Linked DNA regions of Homo sapiens: all the other regions are linked to region 3. The links are contacts of gene promoters, found by promoter capture Hi-C in human tissues and cell types (Jung and others, 2019). All regions are on one chromosome and are shown on one strand. The core of a region is centred on a gene start or on the middle of the fragment in contact, and the rest is flanking DNA. Distances in the headings are between cores, read along the strand shown. Region 1 has its middle 4.4 kb from the start of SPTLC2. Region 2 overlaps VIPAS39 (VPS33B interacting protein, apical-basolateral polarity regulator, spe-39 homolog). Region 3 holds the start of ZDHHC22 (zDHHC palmitoyltransferase 22).

Region 1 (3,751 bases), core at 448-2,947, 480 kb after region 3:
CTCTATGACTCAGGTACTTCTTCTGTAAAATGGGATATACCTCATAGAGTTGGAGAATTAACAAAAGCATTTAGTGCCAAGACCTGTTACATAATATTAAATGAGTGTTGGTAATTATTCATTGGATAAATGAAGTACTTATTAAGTGAATGAATGATTGATTGAATACATTTATACTTACAATTAGGCAACAAGCTTGGTGAGTTGAGGGGATTGTCTAATTTATCTTTGGGTTCCCAGTACCTACCACGTGTCTGTCACATAGCAAATGCTCAATAAATGTTTGATGAATGCATAAATGGATAAATGAATTAAAATTTGGCCTTGGCTGGACATGGTGGCTCACACTTGTAATCTCAGCACTTTGGGAGGCCGAGGTAGATGGATCACGTGAGGCCAGGAGTTCGAGACCAGCCTGACCAACATGGTGAAACCCCGTCTCTCCAGAAAATACAAAAATTAGCCGGGCGTAGTGGCACATGCCTGTAATCTCAGCTACTTGGAGGCTGAGGCACAAGACTTGCTTGAACTTGGGAGGCAGAGGTTACAGTGAGCCGAGATTGTGCCACTGCACTTTAGCCTGGGTGACAGAGAGAGACTCTGTCTCAAAAAAAAAAAAAAAAAAAAATTTTGGCCTTGTCTCCAAGGAACCTTCTATCACATGGAGACTGTGTTAATTGAGGTTCTTTGGTTGCAGATAACATAAGCCAATTTTAAAAAACTTATTCAAGAAAGGTAAATTTATTGGAACTCTCCTGAAGACAGGGAAGTGTTGGCACTCAGGAAAATCCTAAACCTCAGCAGCAGAAAATTATAGACCTTCCTTCCTCCTAACCAAACCACTTCTGGTGCTTAGCTCTCAACAACCTACAACTTTCATATTCATGAGGTCAAACTTCTACACTCTCAGGAAAAAGAAATCTGATTGGCCTAGCTTATGGTGAGGATGGGTAAATCTGACCAATCGCAATGGCCAGAGCACAAGGTCAAACTGCTGGAGGGGAGGAATCAGTTATAGACAAGGAAGAATCATAGCAGAGAAGGGAGGAACAACCCTAACAGTGTTCACTACAAGGAGATAGAACCCGGGAGTGAAAAGGACAAATAGCAATAGCTTAGAATGGATGTTAAAGAAGGAGGCTGGCGGGTGCAGTGGCTCACACCTATAATCCCAGCACTTTGGGAGGCCGAGGGGGTCGGATCACCTGAGGTCAGGAGCTCGAGACCAGACTGGCGAACATGGTGAAACCCCCATCTCTACTAAAAATACAAAAATATTATCCAGCGTGGTGGCGGGCGGGAGGCTGAGGCAGGAGAATCGCTTGAACCCGCGAGGTGGAGGTTGCAGTGAGCCGAGATCGCGCCATTGCACTCCAGCCTGGGCAATAAGAGCAAAACTCCGTCTCAAAAACAAAAACAAACAAACAAAAAACCCAAACAAGTAGCCAAGCCTCAGGCAATCACAGAAGCCATACTTCAACCACTCAACAGGCAGCCAACTGTTCAGTGTTCAAATAAGGCAAATGCCAAGCTATAACCATTCCAACTGTTTCTGTGTCTCACTTCTGTTTTCTGTATGTTGCTTTCCTTTTTCTATTCATAAATCCTGTCTCACCATGTGACAGTGCTGGAATCTCTCTGAACCTTCTGATTCTGGATGGGGGCTGCCCAATTTGAGGATCATTATTTGCTCAGTTAAATTCTGTTAAATTTAATTTATTTCTTTTTTTCTTTTCTTTTCTTTTCTTTTCTTTTTTTTTTTTTTTTAGGATGGAGTTTCGCTCCTGTTGCCCAGGCTGAAGCGCAATGGCACGATGTCGGCTCACTGCAACCTCTGCCTCTTGGGTTCAAGTGATTCTTCTGCCTTAGCCTCCCAAGTAGCTGGGATTACAGGCTCCCGCCGCCACACCTGGCTAATTTTTGTATTTTTAATAGAGACAGGGTTTCACCACATTGGCCAGGCTGGTCTTGAACTCCTGATTTCAGGCGATCCACCCACCTAGGCCTCCTAAAGTGCTAGGATTACAGGCGCGAGCCACTGTGCCCGGTCTAAATTTAATTTCTTTGAATTTTTTCTCTTAGCAACACCCCTGCCAAAATAAATGACTTCTAACTACCCCTTCCATTGTTGGGTCACTTGGTCAAGAGTCAAATACTGGAGAGAATATCTGCTTGTTTGAGTTTACGTCGCACTGGTCCTAAAAGGTGCAAACAAAAGGAAAAAGTGTCCTTCACCTTTCATGATGGGAGGTGCTTACCAAGACACACCCTCTTAAGAAGAGTACGTTAAATGAGAAGAGATGATTTCCCAAAGGGAAATGGGGGACTTAATAGAAAAAGGGAATGGACACTGGGCAGGCAGAAATGGCCAATGTCCTTTATATCAGTCAAGGCTGCAGATGAATCACAAGATAGAGTTGTGTATTGTGGTAGGCACATGTAATCTTAGCTCTTCAGGAGGCTGAGGCAGGAGGAACACATGAGCGCAGGAGTTCAAGACCAGCCTGGGCAGCATAGCAAGACCCCATCTCAAGAAAAAAGAAAAAAAAGAAGAACCACAAGATGGAATGGAAAGGGCCCTTCAGAAGTAATCTGCTTTTGCACAAAAACCAGAGATAGATGATGCAGAGGTATTATTTGAACCTGACTCTGAGAGCATCATTTGGTCTTCCCTTTTCTTTTTCTTTCTTTCTTTTCTTTTTTTTCTTTTTTGAGATGGAACTTCACTCTGTTGCCCAGGCTGGAGTGTAGTGGTGTGATCTGAGCTCACTGCAATCTCTGCCTTCTGGGTTTGAGCGATTCTTGTATCTCCCAAGTAGCTGGAATTACAGGTGCATGCTACCATGCCCAGCTAATTTTTGTATTTTTAGTAGAGACGGGGTTTTGCCATCCTGGCCAGGCTGGTCTTGAACTCCTGACCTCAAGTGATCCACCCACCTTGGCTTCCCAAAGTGTTGGGATTACAAACATGAGCCACCATGCCTGGCCTGGTCTTCCCTTTTCAAACTTTTCTTGCTTCATTCATTCATTTATCTATTAGGCCAATCACACAAGTATTTTTTGCTGGCCATCATGTTGGGTACTGCAAATACAATGACAAATAGAAAGAAACATGGTATTTGCACTTGTAGAGCTTTCAGTCTTGATTTACAAGAAATGCGTCTGCTCTTTCCCCTTTCATTATTCCTAATCTAATAGAGTAAGTGAAATAGACTAATTCTCTCCCTGGGTTTCTGATCCTACTTTTGTGGAAAATCTTGGATGCTGTTTTTGGACTATTTTCAGTGGCAATATTTGCATCCACAAAACTGGGCAGGTCCTGGGACAAGAGTTTAGAATTGCATTATGACCCTGAGGCCTGAGCTATTTAAATGAATGTTTGCATGCAAACATGAAGCTTTAAGAGGAATGATGGTTTCTGATTATACACCTCCAGGGTGCCAGCTAAGCACTTAGTAGAGATTTTAATCTGTACCCAACAAAGCGTTTGCAATGGGAGTTCTGCAATAATACAGATGAGTGCTCCAGGAATGGGCAGCCAGAGCTTATGTCTCAATGGCAGGTCTCTGCCCTTGAGTTACCTCTGCTCCAGAAGCACCTGAGAGCTTCCTCCACCACACCCCACACTGCCACCCTGGACTTCCTCTGGGCACTCACCTGGCTGAATGTTGCAATCATTTCAGGTTCTGCTCCAGGAAGCAAGTGGACTTTTACTTCTGGCTTCAAGAGGGAGGAGAGGAGATGGTGATGC
Region 2 (3,592 bases), core at 600-3,099, 310 kb after region 3:
TTCCCTCCACCCCAGCTCTTGGTAACCACCATTCTACTTCCTGTCTCTATGAATCTGACTATTCTAGGTCATACGTAAATGGAGTCATACAATATTTGTCCCTTTGTGCCTCATTTTATTTAGTATCACATCCTCAAGGATCATCCATATGGCAGCATGTATGGGAATGTCGTTCTTCTTTAATGCTGAGTAACATTCCGCTGCATGTATATGGCACATTTTGTTTATCCATTCATCCATCAATGGACATTTGGGTTGTTTCCATCTTTTGGCTATTGTGAATAATGCTACTATCAACATGGAGGTACAAATATATGTTCAAGTACCTGCTTTCCATTCTTTTTGAGATATACCCAGAAGTAAAATTGCTAGATCATATGTTATTTATTTATTTATTGAGATGGAGTTTTGCTCTGTCACCCAGGCTAGACTGCAGTAGTGCAATCTCGGTTCACTACAACCTTTGCCTCCCAGGTTCTAGCAATCTGCCTCCCTCAGCCTCCTGAGCAGCTGGGATTACAGAAGCCCCCACCATGCCCGGCTAATTTTTGTATTTTTAGTAGAGACGGGGTTTCACCATATTGGTAGGCTGGTCTAGAACTCTTGACCTCAGGTGATCCACCTGCCTCAGCCTCCCAAAAGTGCTGGGATTACAGGCGTGAGCCACCACGCCTAGCCAGTTATATGTTTACTGTTTAATTTTTTTTAAAAAACCACCATACTGTCTTCCACGGTGGCTGCACCATTTGGCATTCCCACCAACAAGGTTTTCCAACAGCAATGCACAAGGAGTAGGGAGGAATTTTGATCTAGGCAAATTTTTTCAGTACCAGTCACAGGGTTAATGTCAATTTCATTCATCATGCTATAGAAAACCAGTCCAACTCCTCTGAATTTCTCTCATTTATCTCGCTCCTAACACCCAGCTGCCACCTCCAATGAGAATGCTTTACCCTTCAATAATCTTTTTCTTACAAAGTAAATGAAAATTATGGCCTAAGATTTTTCTGGAAAAAGAGAAGGACTTCCCTATCCATTTAAGCATCTCTCTTTACCTCTAAAAAAGCTGCTCAGGGAGTAGGTAGAAGTAGGCTTGGGTAGTTGTGCATAGGAGGAGAAGCTGTTTCGGCTCTTTAGCTGTTCACGCCCCTCGTGGGTTGAGCCGCTATTACCAGCAGTCTCTCTGATGGACCATGAGATACCTGTGAGATAGTAAGAACTACATCAGCAATTCTCATCCACAATAAAGCCTTGACATCCAACATTCAATAAACTCTAAAAGCTTTTCACCAGAAGCCCTGGTCCCTTGGCCAACTTGGGGCAGGGAGAAAAGATAGAATCAAATAGACTAATCAGCAGAAAAATGGACCAAGGACATGAATAGGTGGATCACAGAAAATTCAAATGGCTCTTCAACATATGAAAAGATGCTCAACCTTACTCTTTTTTCTCTTTTTTTCTTTTTTTTTAGAGACAGGGTCTCACTACATTGCCGGAGCTCTGGAGTACAGTGGCTATTCACAATCATATCTAACAGTCATGTCTCACGTCAGCCTCAACTCCTGGCCTCAAGCCATCCATCGCCACTACCCTCCAGAGGCACACACCACCTGCCCCCAGCTTTGCTAAGAGTACTACAAATTAAAAATATAATGAGAAACCATTAGTCCCCTATAAGATGGGGAAAGATCCAAAAGCTTGATAATACCGTGTTAGCCAGGCTATAGGGAAACTGGAACCCTCCTCCATTGCTGGTGGTAGTATGAATTGGTACAACCCCTGTGGAGGTCAATTTGGCAATATCTACCCAATACAGATGCAAACATCCTATGTGAGTAATTCCACTCTAAGAATTGCTCTTTCATTTATGCATCTATGGTCAGAATATAAAGTCAATGATAGAAATATAAAGAGCAAAAGATTGAAAAATCTAAAATTCAACAGTGGGCTGGCTAAAAAATGATGGTAAACCCATACAATTTAATACTATGCTGCTATTTAAAAAAAAGAAAGAGAAAATGAGAACACTCTTTATATACTGACATGGAAAGATCTCCAAGCTATATTAACACATAAAAAGAGCAAGGTATGAAGCATGCTACTGCTTGTGTAAAAATGGGATAAGAATACATGTTTCTATATACTTTTCCAGATGCAAAAAGAGTCTTTAGATGAATACACAGGAACCAAGCAACGATTGTTTTTTGGGAGGACATGAACTGAAAACTGAGAAGATACATAACAATATGGAACGGAAACTTTTCACTGTAGACCTTTAATTTTTTTTTTTTAATCTTTAGTCACATTATAGTATGGCCTATTTTTTAAAAACTTTCAATTAAAAATATTTCTTAAAAATCAGATGGGGACCAGGGATGGTGGCTCATACCTATAATCCCAGCATTTGGGAGGCCAAGGCAGGCGGATCACTTGAGGTCAGCAGTTCAAGACCAGCCTGGCCAACATGGTAAAACTCCATCTCTACTAAAAATACAAAAATTAGCCAGGCATGGTGGTTGGCACCTTTAATCCCAGCTACTAGGGAGGCTGAAGCATGAGAATCGCTTGAACCTGGGAGGCGGAGGTTGCAGTGAGTCAGGATCGCGCCATTGCACTCCAGACTAGGCAACAGAGTAAGACTCCATCTCAAAAAAAAAAAAAAAAAAAAATCAAATGGACTCTGAAAAAGTATTAAGTGGTATCATATACAGCTAAGCAGTGAGACTTGGTGGGTAAGGAAGTCCGTTCTGTCAATCAGTTATTAGTATACTGAGTCAAGTCAGTAGTTCCCAAATATGGCTATATATCAGAATCACCTGCAGTGTTTATTAAAATTTGAGACCCCCTCTACTCCGCAGAAGACCTAATGAACAGAATCTCTGGGATAAAGCCTAGGAGTATGTCATTTTAACAAGCACCCCAAATGAGAATGAAATAGCCAGCTAAGAGTCAACCCCTGAAGAGCAGACCTATATAGCCATGTGGGAACTCCTGCTGGATTTCCCAAGTATCTTCTCCTGGAGTTAAGTTTCCAGATGTATGCTTATCTGAAAATAGTCTTATCCTAGTCCCTCTCCTAACTAGCATTGAAGAAACAAACAAGTAGAGCCTTTATCAGTGATAAGAATCCTCAACATCTATCCCTGCCTAGGGACTCTTCTACTTACTTCCCACAGGTTCCCCACTCCAGCTGACTCGCTCCAGGTCATCATCGTCATCATCATCCACGAAGTCTCGGAGGCTGTTCACCGCCCGCTTGGACTCCTTTAACTGCAGAGGGACACAAGGCTAGGGTGCTCAGGCAAATCATCATTTCCCACCTCTCTTCTGACAATCAAGAAGGCTGAGGAATTGGGGCCTGAAGGTGGCCAACACTCGCCCTGTGCAATCGAAAGCCTAGCATACTACATATTTGCCAAGAAAACAAACTGATTTTTAGCCAACACTACAGTCCAGTGATAAAAGAGTTAGGAGGAATCAAAGTCACTTTTGAATTCTCATCATATTCCTGGCAGTGACTTGCTATGTAAACCTGAGTGAATTTATTCACCTCTCTAAAAATAAATGATTCCTCAATTGCAAAATAGACACA
Region 3 (3,388 bases), core at 123-2,622:
GTATATATCTGCGTGTACAGACACGCAGCCTCTGCTATCTAGCTTTAAAAAAATCAATTGAAACAATCGATACACTCACACTCGCTCTCGGGCACCGGGTGAGGTGGGGGCGCAACCAGAATACCTGTGTCAGCGGGTCCTGGCCAGCACATCTCTCCAACGCTGGCTGCCCGGGCTATTTCTTTGCGAAGAGCGTTTTCATTTGAGGCGAAATTAAAATCCCCCCTTCGCGCCCGCCTCCCGCCCTCCTGCTGAGAGAAACCCAAACAACCCTCATGGCGCCGAAATCCTTTCCATGCCGACAAGCCCGCCCTGGGCGCACGAGTGGATGCTTGGCCAGCCTTTCCTGGGATCGACCCCGCCGCCGTGCTCAGCCCTCACCACGTCCCCATCCCACCCCACGCCTCACAGCCGGGGTTCCTGGCCAGCTTCGGAAGCCACCGAGAAATAGGATTCCGTGCGCCCGAGAGAACTTTTCCAGGGGCTAAGGAATCGGCCAGCCGGAGGCGCGAGAAAAGTTCTGGGAAGGCGGTTGCACCTAGGATGGGTGGATGCCACGGGGCCTCCGTCCAGGCTGTCCCGTCCGCACGGGTCGACTGGTCACCTTGGAATCCCCTTTGCAGGTCCCAGCGCCCCCCGGGAACCCGCAGCCTCCGCGGAGAGCGTGGGCCTCTCCCTACCGCTGGGGCGCAGCGCAGTGCACGCCTGAGGGTGGTCGCCGGGGGCTGGGCACGCCCCCAGTCCTGCGCCGCCGGGGGCTGCGGCGGTGCTGCCCACCCCAGAGAGCCCTCGGCCTGGGGCTCCGGCGAAGCAAGTGCCTTCCCGGCGCCGGTCGCCAGGGGGGCGCGGGAGCAGCCAGATGCGCCGCAGCGCTGGGAAGGCGGCGAAGGACAGGGGCTAGGGGAGTGAGGGGCGCTCGGCAGGCAGCCTCAGCCCTGGCCCTGCGCGGGAGAAGGGACAGCAGAGACCGCCCGTGGGGCCCCGGGGTGTAGGGAGCTGTCCGTTCAGCCCTGGCGCCCGCCTCGCCCGCGGCAGAGGGCGGCACAGCCGGAGCCTTGGAAAGACCGGCAGCGCCGGCAGCCGCGGGCTTCTCGGCCACTGCCTCCCGGACGCACGGGAAGCCGCCCCCCGCGCCGCCGCCGCCGCACTGCCGCCGTCGCAGAGGGGTGAGGAAATCAACTCACCGAGCTCTGGTCGCCGACAAGAGGAGCCCCGGACGCCGGCTCTCGCCCTGCCCGAGGCTGCAAAGTTGTGGACTCGGCCCGGCTGGCTCGCAGCCTGCGCTTCGCTTCGGGAACTGGGCAAGTAGCGGGGATGTGGGGAGGAGGGAGCGGGCAGCTGCTGGCTTCCCACTTGGGCGCCAGCGAGTAAGGGCCAGGAAGCGGCGGGGATGGCAGCTGGGCACCCCCCAGCCCCGCCACCCCTCCCTCCGCTCCTGGGGGCGGTGCTCTGGCCGCCAGTCTCAGCATCGTGGACTTGCCCCCTCCTCCCCTCTCGATTCCCCTTGAGCGGGCTGGGGCGCCCTGCCTGGTTTCAGCGCCCGTTCCAGCTGGGAGATTGGGATTCAGCCCTGATGTGGATTCTCCAGCCATCATCCTGCCCTTCCCTCTCGGCTAGGTCCCACGACCTTCCCTGCTCTCCACTCGGACTGAAGGAACCCTGGGGGCTTGAGAGGTCAGCTTGCCAGGGCAACACCCATGAAGATCAGCGTCATCTCCTCGGAAGGGCTGTGTACAGAGGGTTGGGAGTTGGGACTCTGGAGCCTGTCTACCTGGGTTTGAATATTCACCATTCACTACTGTGAGATCTCAGATTCCAGTTTCTTCGTCTGTAAATTCCAGTGTGATCTTAGATTCCAGTTTCCTCATCTGTGAAATAGAGATATGAGGGTTAAATGACAATCTATGTAAAACCCTTAAACAGGGCCTGCCCAGGGCAAGCACTGCTTGATTAGATCATAATTAGACACTACTTATCGGGCCCCTACTAGGTAGCAGGCATTGTGCTAAGCCTTTAGCATAAGATGCTTCCTTAATCCTCTCAGCCTGATCTGTGAAGCTGGCTGAGCCCCATTCTGGAGATGAGGAGGTTGAAGCTCAGAGAAGCTAAGTCTCATGTCTAAGGTCATACAGCCATTAAGTGACAGAGCCTGGACTTGAACCTGGTTCTAGCATTAATGCTCCTGCACTCAGCCTCTACACAGCCCAGCATCACCCTGGGACCCACGGGCAGCTCTGATTTGAGAGAAGGAAAGACAATGGGAGTTTATCCAGACACAGAGCTTGAACTTGGAGCTTCTTCTTTGAGCCTCACCCCCACCTTCTTATTTCTATTTCCTTCCCCTTCCAGGGCTCCGCTATTCTAAGGTGGGTACTGTGATGCGCCAAGAGGGTAGTGACACCAATGTGTATCAAACAGTGGGGGGTGGGGGGAGCAGAGCCTTAAAAACATCAAACACTGCAGGAATATTGGTGCCATCACCATCCTCAATTTCCTGGGTGTCGCAGCTCACCTACCTGCCCTGTTCCTCTCCTCTCGGTGATGGCATACTTAATAAATAAACATTTATTGCTTTCTCAACTGGCTGATTAAAACAAGAGCAATCCCTTGAAATGAGGGCCATATGCTGATCAGCTCAGCCTCTATTCTTGAATAACCACACACTGTTTCCTCTGTAATTTATCAGCATACATCAAAATAAAAAAGAGGCCAGGAAACCTTTTCACATTCTAAAAGGATCTGACATGTAAGTGAAAGAACAGTATATGCCACATGGTGGCCGTGAGCAGCTGGTAGCCTTGTGAGTTCCAGTGGCCACAGGACAGACATGGGGAGGCACACATGGCCCTTTTCCCTTCAGAGCAGCTTTGTCTCATAATCGTGGCCGTCTGGGCCCCTTTTCACAAGCTCTGTCTGCCTCTCACATGGGCTTGGCAGGGAGGGAGGCTGGCTGGGGTGCTTGGGTTTGGGTATACTGACTGAAGATCTCCATTCCCCAAATACCTTGTGAGTCGGGTGGTATTTCTAATTTTATTTTGCATATGGGTGTGAGGTGGGAAGGTGTGTGTCTGAATCTGTGTGTATGAGGAAAGGGAAAGAGAGAAAGAAGCTAAGCGAACGTGGGAAGATGTTAGTGGGGGAAGGGAGTATTCAGTCAGGAAAAGGAGATCTGGTCGTGGAAACACAAATGGACAAGGACGATTATTTATTTAGAAATATCGTTTATCAACAGAAAAGGACATTACAGCTTCAGATCTAAAGCTAGTGGTTCCTCAGCTCCCCTTAAGGAATGGAGTGAAGGGAAGCACGGCAAATGTCATTTTGTTTTTCTAAAACTTATGCTTATCCCTGACAAAATCAATAGGGAGGCAAAATCAATATGAAAACT

What was found. The method cuts DNA at HindIII sites, captures the fragments that hold promoters and counts their contacts. A contact is called where the count stands out against the background at its distance.
Region 1: a contact is called between a fragment that was not itself captured here and the fragment with the promoter of ZDHHC22 in region 3, in 1 of the 25 tissues and cell types used here (dorsolateral prefrontal cortex).
Region 2: a contact is called between a fragment that was not itself captured here and the fragment with the promoter of ZDHHC22 in region 3, in 1 of the 25 tissues and cell types used here (dorsolateral prefrontal cortex).

The regions. Positions count from the first base shown.
Region 1 is chr14:77,619,157-77,622,907 of GRCh38, forward strand. No RefSeq gene overlaps it. Among named protein-coding and RNA genes, the nearest start is that of SPTLC2, 4.4 kb to the left of the region's middle. The HindIII fragment of the contact is 4,035 bases long and covers 1-3,715 here.
Region 2 is chr14:77,450,132-77,453,723 of GRCh38, forward strand. It overlaps VIPAS39 (VPS33B interacting protein, apical-basolateral polarity regulator, spe-39 homolog), which reads right to left. Exons shown (of 20, transcript NM_001193315.2): 3 at 3,168-3,270; 4 at 1,056-1,202. Among named protein-coding and RNA genes, the nearest start is that of VIPAS39, 5.7 kb to the right of the region's middle. The HindIII fragment of the contact is 5,877 bases long and covers 1-3,592 here.
Region 3 is chr14:77,140,419-77,143,806 of GRCh38, forward strand. It overlaps ZDHHC22 (zDHHC palmitoyltransferase 22), which reads right to left and starts at 1,373. Exons shown (of 3, transcript NM_174976.2): 1 at 1,185-1,373. RefSeq lists enhancers at 1-327, 328-891, 986-1,487. The HindIII fragment of the contact is 26,670 bases long and covers 1-3,388 here.